Linked DNA regions of Homo sapiens: region 1 is linked to region 2. The links are contacts of gene promoters, found by promoter capture Hi-C in blood cells and fetal thymus (Javierre and others, 2016). All regions are on one chromosome and are shown on one strand. Each heading gives the region's core, a stretch centred on a gene start or on the middle of the fragment in contact. The rest is flanking DNA. Distances are from core to core; before and after follow the strand shown. Region 1 overlaps PVR (PVR cell adhesion molecule). Region 2 holds the start of APOC4 (apolipoprotein C4).

What was found. The method cuts DNA at HindIII sites, captures the fragments that hold promoters and counts their contacts. A CHiCAGO score of 5 or more calls a contact.
Region 1: a fragment that was not itself captured here is called in contact with the fragment with the promoter of APOC4 in region 2 in 2 of 17 cell types (total B cells and naive B cells); the score reaches 5.7 in total B cells.

Annotation. Positions count from the first base shown.
Region 1 is chr19:44,650,182-44,657,193 of GRCh38, forward strand. PVR (PVR cell adhesion molecule) reads left to right here. Exons shown (of 8, transcript NM_006505.5): 4 at 3,719-3,836. It overlaps MIR4531 (microRNA 4531), which reads right to left and starts at 3,551; the gene lies at 3,505-3,551. RefSeq lists an enhancer at 4,522-4,581 and a silencer at 6,357-6,557. The HindIII fragment of the contact is 5,987 bases long and covers 1-4,496 here.
Region 2 is chr19:44,937,275-44,944,503 of GRCh38, forward strand. APOC4 (apolipoprotein C4) reads left to right here and starts at 4,963. Exons shown (of 3, transcript NM_001646.3): 1 at 4,963-5,079. The coding sequence starts at 5,004. APOC4-APOC2 (APOC4-APOC2 readthrough (NMD candidate)) reads left to right here and starts at 4,964. Exons shown (of 6, transcript NR_037932.1): 1 at 4,964-5,079. The HindIII fragment of the contact is 22,942 bases long and covers 1-7,229 here.

The DNA.
Region 1 (7,012 bases), core at 253-2,752, 290 kb before region 2:
GCACTGTAGGCATTGCTTCCATCATCTGCACCGGCTCCCCTGACTCCTGTCTACACGACCCACCCCCATTGTCTGCACCAGCTCCCCTGGGCCGTAAACAACACTGTCCCTATTGTCTACACCAGTTTACTTGGGCCATAGTCAATGCTGGTACCCAGACTGTCTGCCCTGGCTCCTCTAGCGGCTGTCTGCACGGATACCTGACACTCTGTTGACTCCCTTGAGCACAGTCTACACTGCCCCTAAACTGCCTACACCCATTTCCCCAGGCAAGTATCCACAATGACCCTCCCCACATTGCTACACTGGTTCTTCTGGCCACGATCAACACTGCCTCCCTTATTGTCTACACCCACTCCCTTGTCCTTTTCTTTCTTTCCTTTTTTTTTTTTTTTTTTTGAAATAGAGTCTCACTCTGTTACCCAGGCTGCAGTACAGTGGCATGTTCTCGGCTCACTGTAACCTCTGCCTCCCAAATTCAGGTGGTTCTCCTACCTCAGCCTCCCAAATAGCTGGGATTAAAGGTGCACACCACCACACCTGGCTAATTTTTGTATTTTTAGTAGAGACAGGGTTTCATCATGTTGGCCAGGCTGGTTTCGAACTCCTGACCTCAGGTGATCGGCCTGCCTCAGCCTCCCAAAGTATGCTGGAATTATAGGCATGAGCCACTGTGCCCGGCTTTTTGTTTTGTTTTGTTTTTCCTTTGGACAGGGTCTCGCTCTGTCACCCAGGCTGGAGTGTAGGGGCATGATCATGGTTCCTACAGCCTCACCCTTCCAGGCTCAAGCAATCCTTCTCCCTCAGCCTCCCAAGTAACTGGGACTACAGGTGCAGCCACCATGCCCGGCTAATTTTACAGTTTTTTTCTAGAGAGAGTTTTGCTGTGTTGCCCAGGCTGGTCTCAAACTCCTAGGCTTAAGTGATCCTCCCGCCTCAGTCTCCCGAAGTGCTGAGATTACAGGCGTGAGCCACTGCACCTGGCCCCTTGTCCATTTTCTACACTGCCTTACCATTGTCTACACTGGCTCTCCTGGGCCACAGACAGCACTAACCCCATTGTCTACACCACCTATTTTGGCCACCAGCTGTGGGGTGTTTTCACTGTCTCCCATAGTGTCTACACTGGCTCCTATGACCACTGTCTATGTAAACACCCCACTTTTTCTACACTGGTTCTCCTAGGCACTCTCTAAAGTGCCCCCTGACACTGTCTACACTGACTCCCTGGAGAACTGTCTGCATTCACCTCCCACATTGTATCGACCAGTTCCCCTGAGCCACGATCAACTGTCTCCGCCGGGTGCTAGTTGCATTGATCTTCTCACATTGTTTGTGCTGGCTCCCCTAAGCAGTGTCTGCAGAGTCCCCCAGTGTAGTCTCCATGTTCCTCTGCCCAATATTGTCTACACTGGCTCATCTACAGGCTATCCAGTCTCACCCCACATCACCACACTGGCCTCCTTGTGTTCTGTCTGCACAGCCCCCTGACAGCATCTGTCCTGATTCTCCTGCACAGCGTTACCTCCACCAGCTCCCTCATGGCATCATCGACATTGACACCCACACATTTATCTCCACTGACAGCCCCAGGACTCTCTAACCAGTGCTGTCTAACAGAAATAGCATGCAAGCTGCATATAGGATTTTAAATTCTCCAGCGGCCACCCCATTAAAAAATTAAAAGAAAGAGGCCAGGCACGGTGGCTCACGCCTGTAATCCCAGCACTTTGGGAGGCCGAGGCAGGTGGATCACCTGAGGTCAGGCATTCAAGACCAGCCTGATCAATGTGGTGAAACTCTGTCTTCACTAAAAAATACAAAAATTAGCCAGGCACGGTGGCGGGTGCCTGTAATCCCAGCTACTCGGGAGACTGAGGCAGGAGAATCACTTGAACCTGGGAGGCGGAGATTGCAATGAGCGAGATTACGCCATTGCACTCCAGCCTGGGCAGCAGAGCAAAACTCCATCTCAAAAACAAGAAAAGAAAGAGATGAAATTTATTTGTTTATTTATTTATCTATTTATTTATTTGAGACGGGGTCTTACTCTGTCACCCAGACTGGAGTGCAGTGGCACAGCTCCCTGCAGCCTCAACCTCCTGGGCTTAAGTGATCCTCCCACCTCAGCCTCAGTCTCCTGAGTAGCTGGGACTACAGGCGTGTGACACCATGCCTAGCTAATTTTTGTTTTTGTTTTTGTTTTTGTTTTTTTGTTTTGTGATGAAGTCTTGCTCTGTCACCCAGGCTAGAGTGCAGTGGCACGATCTCAACTCACTGCAGCCTCCGCCTCTCGGGTTCAAGTGATTCTCCTGCCTCAGCCTCCCGAGTAGCTGGGATTACAAGCCCTGGCCACAGTGCCCAGCTAATTTTTGTATTTGTGGTAGAGACGGGATTTCACCATGTTGGCCAGGCTGGTCTCAAACTCCTGACCTCGTGATCCACCCACCTTGGCCTCCCAAATTGCTGGGATTACAGACGTGAGCCACCGCACCCGGCCTATTTTTATTTTTTCTGGAGACAGGATCTCCCTATGTTGCCCAGGCTGGTCTCAAACTCCTGGGCTCAAGTGATCCTCCTGCCTCAACCTCCCAAGGTACTGGGATTACAGGCATGAGCCACTGTGCCTGGCCAAAATTAATTTTTAATAATTGCCTTTACTTAACCCAATATACCTAAAATATTATTTCAACTTGTAATTGTTTTTTTAAAATTATTCTTGAGATCTTTCCCATTTATTTTGTCCTAGTAAAGCCTTTGAAATCTGGTGTGTATTTCGGCCTGGCTATATTTCGAGTGCTCAGTAGTCACATGTGGCCAGTAGGTGCCATATTGGACAGCACAGATCTAGACTAAGCTCCCACATCATCTACACTGGCTCATCCAAATACTGTCTACACACATACACAGAGCCTGTCTTAATTTCGTCAGCTCCCGGGGACACACTGTATATGTGGGGGTGATCTCACCCCCACCACCACATTTTCAACACTGGCCCGACAATATAGCATCTGCTGTAATATTCCAACACCCTGTCTACACTGAACCCATCAGTAATATCCACACAAGCTCTTCTAGACATCATTCATACTGTTCCTCCCACCATTGTCTATACTGCTTACTCCCCGCCAGGCAATTGGTACACAGATTCCCTCAGGTACTGTCTATACTGGAGTCCCTCAACACTGTCACTGGGTCTGAGCGAGGAGGAGATCTACACTGACTCCTACCCCTCGCCCCCGAATAAAACCCTGTCCCATTGGCCTGCCCCCAAGGACATTGAAAGGTCTTCGCTGTCAATCACGTATGGGATGGCTGAGCAGCAGCCTAGAGCAGGGTTATCTGGGACTCTTTCCTGCAGGACTTGTCAGAACCTTGAATACACTGCTGTGTGTTGTGAGTGGTCATTGCCTATGAGTGAGAAAAGGAGGAGGCATTTTCCTGCAGGACACCCAAGACATGCCTGGTCCAGGCTACCCAGGAAAGCTAGTGGAGAAAAGCAGCTCCTCAGAAGCCTTCTCCATGTCCCCACTGACCAAGGACTCCTAGGCTTCTGCTCTCTGTGGCACCCCATCTACCTAGACTCCTCCTAGGCCTCTCCAGCTCCCGCTGTTTTCCAAATATCCCCGGGCCTTTTCCTGCAGTGTCGTGAATCCCGCGTAGCCCCAGGCCCCCCAAAGCCTCCCAGTCTCTGAACCTCTGTATCCATTTCCTGCAGACCCCCCAGAGGTATCCATCTCTGGCTATGATAACAACTGGTACCTTGGCCAGAATGAGGCCACCCTGACCTGCGATGCTCGCAGCAACCCAGAGCCCACAGGCTATAATTGGAGCACGTGAGTCCTGGGTCTCAGGGAGGAGGGGCTGGGGGTCTGGATTTCTAGCACTGAGGGAGGAGGGGCTGGGGGCCTGGACTCCTGGGACTGAGGGAGAAGGGGCTGGGGGCCCGGACCCCTGGGTCTGAGGGACGAGAGGCTGGGAGCCCGGACTCCTGGGTCTGAGGGAAGAGGGGCTGGGGGTCTGGACCCCTGGGACTGAGAGAGGAGGGGCTGGGCCTGGACCCCTGGGTCTGAGGGAGGAGGGGCTGGGGGGTCTGGACCCCTGGGTCTGAGGGAGGAGAAGCTGGGAGCCTGGACCCCTGGGTCTGAGGCAGGACAGACTGGGGCCTGGACTCCTGGTCTAAGAGAGGAGGGAGATTCAGAAAAGAGAAAAAGAGGAGGTTGACTTCGGGCCCCCAGTGGGGGGCATCTCTGTTTTGACATCTCTGTTTTGCGGTTGAGGCGTTTAGCAGGTGGTTGAATCCTGGCTGGTGGATGCACCTGCTTTTTGGGGTGTGCCTGCTCTGTGCCCGGTACTTCCCCCGAATCCCATGTGACCCCATGCTGTGCACAGTCAGCAGCTGTTGCCCTGCCCAGGTTAAAGACCAGCCACGAGAGGGCAGAAGCGGCCCTTGAATCAGCGCTCGGCTCCAAAGCTGGTCCTCCGCCTCTTGGCCAAGCTTGTCTAACCTGCAGGCCACATCATTTGTAAACTTTCTTAAAACATTATGAGACTTTTTTTTTGCGAATTTTTTTAGCTCATTAGCTATTGTTAGTGTTAGTGTATTTTATGTATGGCCCAGGACAGTTCTTCTTCTTCCAATGTGGCCCGGGGAAGCCAAAAGATTGGACACCCCCACTCTAGACTGTAACCACCTCACCGTCACCTTGTGTAACCTACTTGGTTATCTCTGGATGGAGCAAGTACTATATATCCCCATTGTCTAGATGAGAAAGTTGAGGCTCACAGCAATAAGATTTCCCCAGATTCACACTGAGGCTGAGATCAAGAGCAAGGTAAGAAAAAGGCAAAGAGATAATACATAATTTTATAATACATAATTTTACATAAATTACATAATTTTACTGAACCGCCCTTTTTTTTTAAAGAAGGGGCTCTGTTGCCGAGGCTGGAGTGCAGTGGCGTGATCATAGCTCACTGCAGCCTGGACCTCCCTGGGCTCAGGTGATCCTCCCACCTCAGCCTCCTGAGTAGCTGGGACTACAGGCACACGCCACCACACTCAGCTAATTTTGTTGTATTTTTTTTGCAGAGACAGGGTTTTGCCACATTGCCCAGGCTGGTCTGCAACTCCTGGGCTCAAGCAATCAACCCACCTCAGCCTCCTAAAGTGCTGGGATTACAGGCGTGAGCCACCTCGCCCAGCCTTAGGTCTTTTTCCTTATTACAAAAATAACTTGTGTCCACTGTAGAAATATCAAACAATTTAGTTATGAGCAAAAAGAAGAAAGTAGTGCCTATAGTTCAAGTGTACCCAGCCACCTCCAGAAATACCCAGTGACCCCTTATTATACATCCTGTCTTTTTTCTCTCTGTTTCTAAACAAAGACTGGAATTATGCTGTACATATAATTTTGAACCTTTTCGTCTGTCTTGTGAATACCTTTCCATGTCAAAGCACATAGATCCACAACTCCATTTTCCCCCACGTTGTATTAGGAAGACTGTCAAACATACAGAAAAATCATAGGAATTTTCCAGTGAACACTTAAGATTCCACCACGTGGATTCCCCTGCTAACATTTTACTGTGCTTGCTTTATCACGTTTCTGTGATTCCTTCAGTCCCTCTATTCATCCATCAATCATATTATGCATTTCAGAGCACCCCCAGCTCTCCTGCTTTTTTTTTTTTTTTTTTTTTTTTGAGGCAGGGCCTCACTCTGTTGCTCAGGCTGTAGTGCCGTGGCACAATCACAGCTCACTGCAGCCTTGAATTCCTGGGCTCAAGCGATCCTCCAGCTTCAGCCTCCCAGATAGCTGGGACTACAGGCACACACCACCACGCCTGGCTAACCTGGCCCCTTTTTTAGTGTTGCTGGGATTCCACCACTTTAAAAAAAAAATTCAAAGAATAGAGACAGGATCTCACTATGTTGCCCAGGCTGGTCTTGAACTCCTGTACTCAAGCAGTCATCTCACCTGGGCCTCCCAAAGGGCAGGGAAGGGATTCCAACATATGTGGATGTCATCAGTTATTTAACCAGTCCCTAGTAGAGGACACAGATGTCATTTTCCATTTTCAACTCTGCAAATGCCATGGTGGTGTCCATCCCCACTGGTCACTTGTCAGCAGTTGTCCGTGGAAGGAATTGCCGGTCAAAGGTTTTCAACTGGTGTGATGGTGCCTTTACTGTCCTGCCTCAAAGCACCGCAATTCAGGCTCTTGAGCCAGATAGCTGCGTTTGCATCCCAGCTCTGCGGAGCACCCAAAGCCTGATGCTTCCATCTCCTCCACCTCTGTTCATTAAACCAGTGTTCCTTGACTACTTACTGTGTGCCGGGTGCAATTAACCAACATACGTTGGTCGATAAAACAGACCAAATTTCCTCCCCATATAGAGCTTCCATTCTAGTGGTGAAAGAAACAAGAAGCAAGATAAAGTGTGTAGTGTGTGTGCAATGGTGATAAATACCATGGAGAAGACAAAGCAGAGAAGGGAATGGGACTGGGCGCCATGACTCATACCTGTAATCCCAGCACTTTGGGAGGCAGAGATGGGAGGATCACTTGAGGCTAGGAGTTCAAGACCAGCCTGGCCAACATGGCGAAACCCCATCTCTACCAAAAAAGATACAAAAATTGGCCGGGTGTGGTGGCATGCACCTGTAGTCCCAGCTACTCAGGAGGCTGAGGTGGGAAGATTCCATGCACCCAGGAGGTGGAGGTTGCAGTGAGTCAAGATGGTGCCACTGCACTCCAGCCTGGGTGACAGAGTGAGACGCTGTCTCAAAAAAATAATAATTAAATAAATTAAAGAGAAGGGGATGGGAAGGGTGATCATCACAGTTGAAATAGGGTGGCCAAGTGAGGTGTTACTAAGGTGACATCCCAGCAGAGGCCTGAAGGAGATGAGGGTGAGCTCTGCGGGTGCCTAGGGGGAAAGCATTCCAGCAGAGGGAACAGCATGGGCAAACCCATTTCTATCCATCAGTCCCTGCATAAGCAAACA
Region 2 (7,229 bases), core at 3,713-6,212:
TTCGTAACCAGCCTGGCCAACATGGTGAAACCCCGTCTCTACTAAAAATACAAAAATTAGCTGGGCGTGGTGGCGGACGCCTGTAATCCCAGCTACTCAGGAGGCTGAGGCAGAAGAATTGCTTGAACCCGGGAGACAGAGGTTGCAGTGAGCTGAGATCACGTCACTGCACTCCAGCCTGGGTGACTGAGCAAGACTCCATCTCAAAAAGAAAAAAAAACAGGCCAGGAGCAGTGGCTTACACCTGTAATCCCAGCACTTTGGGAGGCCAAGGCGTGTGGATTGCCTGAGGTCAGGAGTTCAAGACCAGCCTGGCCAACGTGGTGAAACCCTGTCTATACTAAAAATGCAAAAATTAGCTGGGTGTGGTGGCAGGCGCCTGTAGTCCCAGCTACTCGGGAGGCTCAGGTAGGAGAATTGCTTGAACCCAGGAGATGGAGGTTGCAGTGAGCCGAGATCGCGCCACTGCACTCCAACATGGGCAATAGAGCAAGACTCCATCTCAAAAAACAAAGAAGGGAGGGAGGGAAGGAAAGAAAGGAAAAGAAGCAACAGGTAGAGTCAGGCTCTGAACCCCACACCAATCATAACACAACACACAGTAGGTTTGTTTTTGTTTTTTATTTTGGGCTTTTGTTTGTTGTGGAGACAGCGTCACCCAGGCTGTAATGCAATGGTACAATCATAGCTCACTGTAGCCCTGAACTCCTAGACTCAAACAATCCTCCCACCTCGGCCTCCTGAGTAGCTGGGACTACAGGGGCATGCCACCACGCCTAGCTAAATTTTTTTTTTTTATTTTTAGTAGAGATGAGGTCTCCCTATGTTGCCCAGATTAGTGTCTTAACTCCTGGGCTCAGGTGATCCTGCCACCAGGGATTACAGGCACGAGCCACCATGCTGGCCCTTGTTTTTTGTTGTTTTTTTTTTTTTTTTTTGAGACGGAGTCTCGCTTTGTCGCCCAGGCTGGAGTGCAGTGGCGGGATCTCGGCTCACTGCAAGCTCCGCCTCCCGGGTTCACGCCATTCTCCTGCCTCAGCCTCCCAAGTAGCTGGGACTACAGGCGCCCGCCACTATGACCGGCTAATTTTTTTGTATTTTTAGTAGAGACGGGGTTTCACCGTTTTAGCCGGGATGGTCTCGATCTCCTGACCTCGTGATCCGCCCGCCTCGGCCTCCCAAAGTGCTGGGATTACAGGCGTGAGCCACCGCGCCCGGCCTGTTTTTTTTTTTTTTTTTGAGACTGAGTCTCGCACTGTCGCCCAGGCTGGAGTGCAGTGGCGCGATCTCGGCTCACTGCAACCTCCACCTTCCAGGTTCAAGCAATTCTCCTGCCTCAGCCTCCTGAGTAGCTGAGATTACAGGTGCCCACCACGATGCCCAGCTAACTTTTTTTTTTTTTTTGGTATTTTTAGTAGAGACGGGGGTTTCACCATGTTGGTCAGGCTGGTCTCGAACTCCTGACCTCGTGATCCGCCCGCCTTGGCCTCCCAAAGTGATGGGATTACAGGCGTGAGCCACCGTGCCCAGCTTTTTTTTTTTTTTTTTAAGAGACGGGGTCTTACTATGTTGCCCAGGCTGGACTCTCAAACTCCTGGGCTCAAGGAATCCTTCTACCACAGCTTTCTGAGTAGCTGGGGCTACAAGCCCCTGCCACAGTACCTGGCTGTTTTTGTTTTTTTATAATTGTGGTAAAATATAAACAACATGGCCGGGTGTGGTGGCTCACGCCTGTAATCTCAACACTCTGGGAGGTTGAGGTGGGAGGATTACTTGAACCCAGGAGTTCAAGACCAGTCTGGGCAACTTGGCAAAACTGTGTTTCTACAAAAAATAAAAATATTAGCTGGGCAGCCAGGCGCAGTGGCTCATGCCTGCAATCCCAGCACTTTGGGAGGCTGAGGTGGATGGATCACCTGAGAGGTCAGGAGTTTGAGACCACCCTGGCCAACATGGTGAAAACCTGTCTCTTTAAAAATACAAAAAAATGAGCCAGCCATGGTGGCTCACGCCTGTAATCCCAGCACTTTGAGAGGCCAAGGCAGGTGGATCACCTGAGGTCAGGAGTTCAAGACCAACCTGGCCAACATTGTGAAACCCCGTCTCTACTAAAAATACAAAAAATTAGCTGGGCATGGTGGCAGGCGCTTATAATTCCAGCTACTAAGGAGGCTGAGGCCGGAGAATCGCTTGAACCCGGGAGGCGGAGGTTGCAGTGAGTCAAGATCGCACCATTGCACTCCAGCCTGGGCAACAAGAGCGAAACTATGTCTCAAATACATACATACATACAAAAAATTAGCCGGGTGTGGTTGCCGCACACCTGTAATCCCAGCTACGCGGGAGGCTGAAGCAGGAGAATCGCTGGAACCCGGGAGGCAGAGGTTGCAGTGAGCCAAGATCACACCATTGCACTCTATCCTGGGTGACGGAGTGAGACTCTGCCTCAAAAAAAAAAAAAAAAAAAAAAAAACTTAACCATTGCAGCCATTTTTAGGTGTACAGTTCAGTGGCATTAAGTACATTCACACTGTTGTGCAACCATCCCCACTATTTGCAGGATGTCTTCGTCATCCCAAACAGAAACTCTGGGTGTTTTCAATCTGCTGATGATTGCTACAGAGGAATTCCAGGGGACATCTGTTGCGCACCTACTGTGCTCACGCTGGGGCCTCTGGGATGGACAGGATTCTGCCAAGGCAGACATCTGGGTCAAGACAGTCCTGCACAGTTGTTCAGGTTGTGGCCAAGGTTGCGTTTGCAGATTTGCCATGTAAAAATACAGGATGCTCAGTTACATTTGAATTTCAGATTAATAGCAAAAAAAACTTTTTGGTATAATTCTGAAATATTTCATGGGACATATTTATACTAAAACGTCATGCACTGTTGATTTGAAATTCAAATGTAATTGGGCCTCCTCTATTTCGTCTGGCAAGCGTAGACAAAAGAATCCAGTCCAGGCCAGGCGCAGTGGCTCAAGCCTGTAATCCCAGCACTTTGGGAGGCCGAGGCGGGCGGATCACGAGGTCAGGAGATCGAGACCATCCTGGCTAACACGGTGAAACCCCGTCTCTACTAAAAATACAAAAAATTAGCTGGGCGTGGTGGCGGGTGCCTGTAGTCCCAGCTACTCGGGAGGCTGAGGCAGGAGAATGGCGTGAACCTGGGAGGCGGAGCTTGCAGTGAGCCGAGATCGCGCCACAGCACTCCAGCCTGGGCGACAGAGCCAGACTCTGTCTCAAAAAAAAAAAAAAGAATCCAGTCCATAGTCCCCTGAGCCATGTGCCCTGGGGTGCAGCTGGGTCCTTCAGGAGAAAAATGCTCTATTTCTGGCACTGGGACCGAGCCTGATGTGGGTTTTTTGTTGGTTTTTGTTGTTGTTATTGTTTTTGAGACAAGGTCTCGCTCCACCACACCCGGCTAATTTTTGTATTTTTAGTAGAGACGGGGTTTCACTACGTTGGCCAGGCTGGTCTTGAACTCCTGACCTCAAGTGAGCCGCCTGCCTCGGCCTCCCAAAGTGCTGGGATTACAGGTGGGAGCCACCGCCCTGGCCCTGGGCCTGATGTTGATGACCTCCTACTATGTGCACCTGCAGCTCTCCTGCATAGGCCTCAGCCGTCCTGCATGAGGACACTGGGAGGCAGGTGCTCCCTATCAACCCCGTGTTACAGTTGAACAAACTGAGCCCCAGAAAAGAAAACGTATTTGCCCAGGTCACACGGTGAAGAAGTGAGGGATTCGAAGCCCAGGTCCATCTGAAGCCAGAGTCACCCAGAGGAGAAAGAGTTGGAATTGAGAACTCAAGGAATGCTTGGAAGTGATCGGGCTCGAGCCCACCTAGGAAGAAACAGAGGCTGGAGACATGAGACTGTGTTGCTATTTCCTCTCATCAACCCTTGGGCCCTATTGAGGCCCTACCACAAGCCTGGCCCTGCAGCCCAGTGACTAGGAGAAATTAGACACAAGATAATAATAACAGCAATGATCTTTTTTTTTTTTCTGAGACGGAGTCTTGCTCTTTCGCCCAGGCTGGACTGCAGTGGCGCGATCTCGGCTCAATGCAAGCTCCACCTCCCAGGTTCACGCCATTCTCCTGCCTCAGCCTCCCGAGTAGCTAGGACTACAGGCGCCTGCCACCACGCCTGGCTAATTTTTCATATTTTTAGTAGAGATGGGGTTTCACCGTGTTAGCCAAGATGGTCTCAATCTCCTGACCTCGTGATCCGCCTGCCTCGGCCTCCCAAAGTGTTGGGGTTACAGGCATGAGCCACCGCGCCTGGCCAACAGCAATGATCTTTGAGCACCTATATTGCCAGTCTCCACGGTAAGAGCTTTCTTCATTTTTTGTTTTGTTTTGTTTCAAGACAGAGTCTTGCTCTGTCACCCAGGCTGGAGTGCAGTGGTGTGATCGCGGCTCACTGCAGCCTTCACTTCCCGGGTTCAAGCCATTCTCCTGCCTCAGCCTCCCAAGTAGCTGGGATTACAGGCACGCATCACTACTTCTGGCTAATTTTTGTATTTTTAGTAGGGACAGGGTTTTTCACCATGTTGGCCAGGTTGGTCTCAAACTCCTGGCCTCATATGATCTGCCCACCTCGGCCTCCCAAAGTGCTGGGATTACAGGCGTGAGCCACTGCGCCTTTCTTTGTATTTGTTCAAGTAATATACTGAAATATGTACTGTGCCTCCCACTTTATGGAGGAGGAAACTGAGGCCAGCAAATGAGGCTGTCATGGGAGGTGGAGACAGGATTTGAACCTGCCTCAGTGCAGGAGGCTCAAGAGCCTCTGTCTTCTCTCAGGGCACTGTGTGGGAGGGTGAGAAGGAGGGAGGCCCACAGAGGCATGACCTCTGATTGCCACTGTCACCTGGGCCCTGCTCTCTGAAGTCTCTGCCAAGCGGGGAGGTGGCCGGGGGAGGGCCCTGCTCTGTGCAGCCTCCCCTCCCCCGGCCCGCAGAGTTGAGCACAGAGGGACAGAGGCACGGAACCCCCAGAAATGTCCCTCCTCAGAAACAGGCTCCAGGCCCTGCCTGCCCTGTGCCTCTGCGTGCTGGTCCTGGCCTGCATTGGGGGTGAGAAGAAGTGGGTGGAGGGATGTGGGGCCCACACCTGGTGGGTGTGAGTGTGGCTGTGTGTCCTGTGGCTCTGTAGCCACGTGAGACATGAGTACGGAGTGTGTGCGTTTCATGGCGTGCGTATGCATGTGCGTGTCGGGGAGTGTGTGTGTCGGTGGCTGAGAGTGAAGTGTGAATGTCACATTGGTACAAACTGGGATCATCTGTGTGTGTGCACGTGCGTGCGTGGAAGTGGGAGTATGCAGTCGTGGTAAAAAAGTGCATGTCTGTGTGCATATGTGTATTTGTGTGCACCTGTCTCTCTGTGGGGTATGTGTGTGCAAAATATTTGAGTGTGTGGACATGTGTGAGGGGGTGAGTGTGTGCTGGTGTGTACGTCTGTGTTTTGCATATGCATTTTTTTTTTTTTTTTTGAGACGGAGTCTCACTCTGTCACCCAGGCTGGAGTGCAGTGGTAGCAGTGGTGCGATCTTGGCTCACTGCATCATCCGCCTACCCGTTTCAAGGGATTCTCCTGCCTCAGTCTTCAGAGTATTTGGGACTACAGACACACGCCACCATGCCTGGCTAATTTTTTTTTTTTGAGACGGAGTCTCGCTCTGTTACCCAGGCTGGAGTGCAGTGGCGTGATCTTGGCTCACTGCAACGTCCGCCTCCCGGGTTCACGCCATTCTCCTGCCTCAGCCTCCCGAGTAGCTGGGACTACAGGAGCCCACCACCACGCCTGGCTAATTTTTTGTATTTTTACTAGAGACGGGGTTTCGCCGTGTTAGCCAGGATGGTCTCCATATCCTGACCTCGTGATCCGCCTGCCTCGGCCTTCCAAAGTGCTAGGATTATAGGCGTGAGCCACTGCGCCTGGCCAATGCCTGGCTAATTTTTTTATATTTTTGGTAGAGACAGGGTTTTGCCATGTTGCCCAGGCTGGTCTTGAAATCCTGACCTCAGGTGATCCGCCCGCCTTGGCCTCCCAAAGTGCTGGGATTACAGGCATGAGCCACCACGCCCGGCCATGTACTTTATGTTAAAATGGGATCATATTCTAGATCAGCATTATCCAGTAGAAATTTAAATTTTTAATACAGGGCCAGGCACGGTGGCTCATGCCTGTAATCCCAGCACTTTCGGAGGCCGAGGCGGGTGGATCGCAAGGTCAGGAGATTTGAGATCATCCTGGCTAACAGATGGGTAAAAACCCATCTCTACTAAAAATACAAAAAATTAGCCATGCATGGTGGCATGCGCCTGTAGTCCCAGCTACTCGGGAGGCTGAGGCCGGAGAATCACTTGAACCCGGGAGGCAGAGGTTGCAGTGAGCCGAGATCGCGCCACTGCATTCCAACCTGGGTGACAGAGCGAGACTCCGTCTGAAAAAAAAAAAAAATTTAACACGTATGTAGACAATGTGCAAGGCACCATTCCATGTGCATCGTATGTAGTAACTCTTAATTCTCACGATAACCCTGAGGTAGATATTATTACCCCGTTCTACAAAAGGAGAAACAGTCCTGGGGAGACAGGATAAGTCACCGGCCAAGGCACACAGCTAGCTACATGTGGCCCCCGCGTGACGGCTGGTCTCTGTAGGCGAGGCTTTGTCCAGATGCGTGGGTAGAAGGTCTGGCCCGGAAAGAGGAACTGACAGCAAGGCTAAGCCAATGTCTGCCCCTGGGGGCAGAAAGTCACCTCCTGCTCTCCCTCCACTGTCCACAGAGGTAGCTCAGACAGGGTGGGGGTCACAGGAGAACGAAGGGAGAAGGGGGTAGTTCCTGGGCAGCAAAATCAGGTGGTGAAGGGAGGCATCAGAGGATGGCAATTAGAGAGGCCATTAGAGGGGAACCACAGGCAGACAGGGTGACAGGAGGGACTACTGACACAAGGTGAAGAGATGGCCCAGCCGGACGGGGTGGCTCACATCTGTAATCCCAGCATTTTGGGAGCCCGAGGTGGGTGGATCACTTGAGGTCAGGAGTTCGAGGCCCCAACATGGCAAAACCCCATCTCTTCTAAAAATACAAAAATTAGCCGGGCATGATGGCAGATGCCTGTAATCCCTGCTACTCGGGAGGCTGAGGCAGGAAAATTGCCTGAATCCAGGAGGTGGAGGTTGCAATGAGACGAGATCATGACACTGCACTCCACCCTGG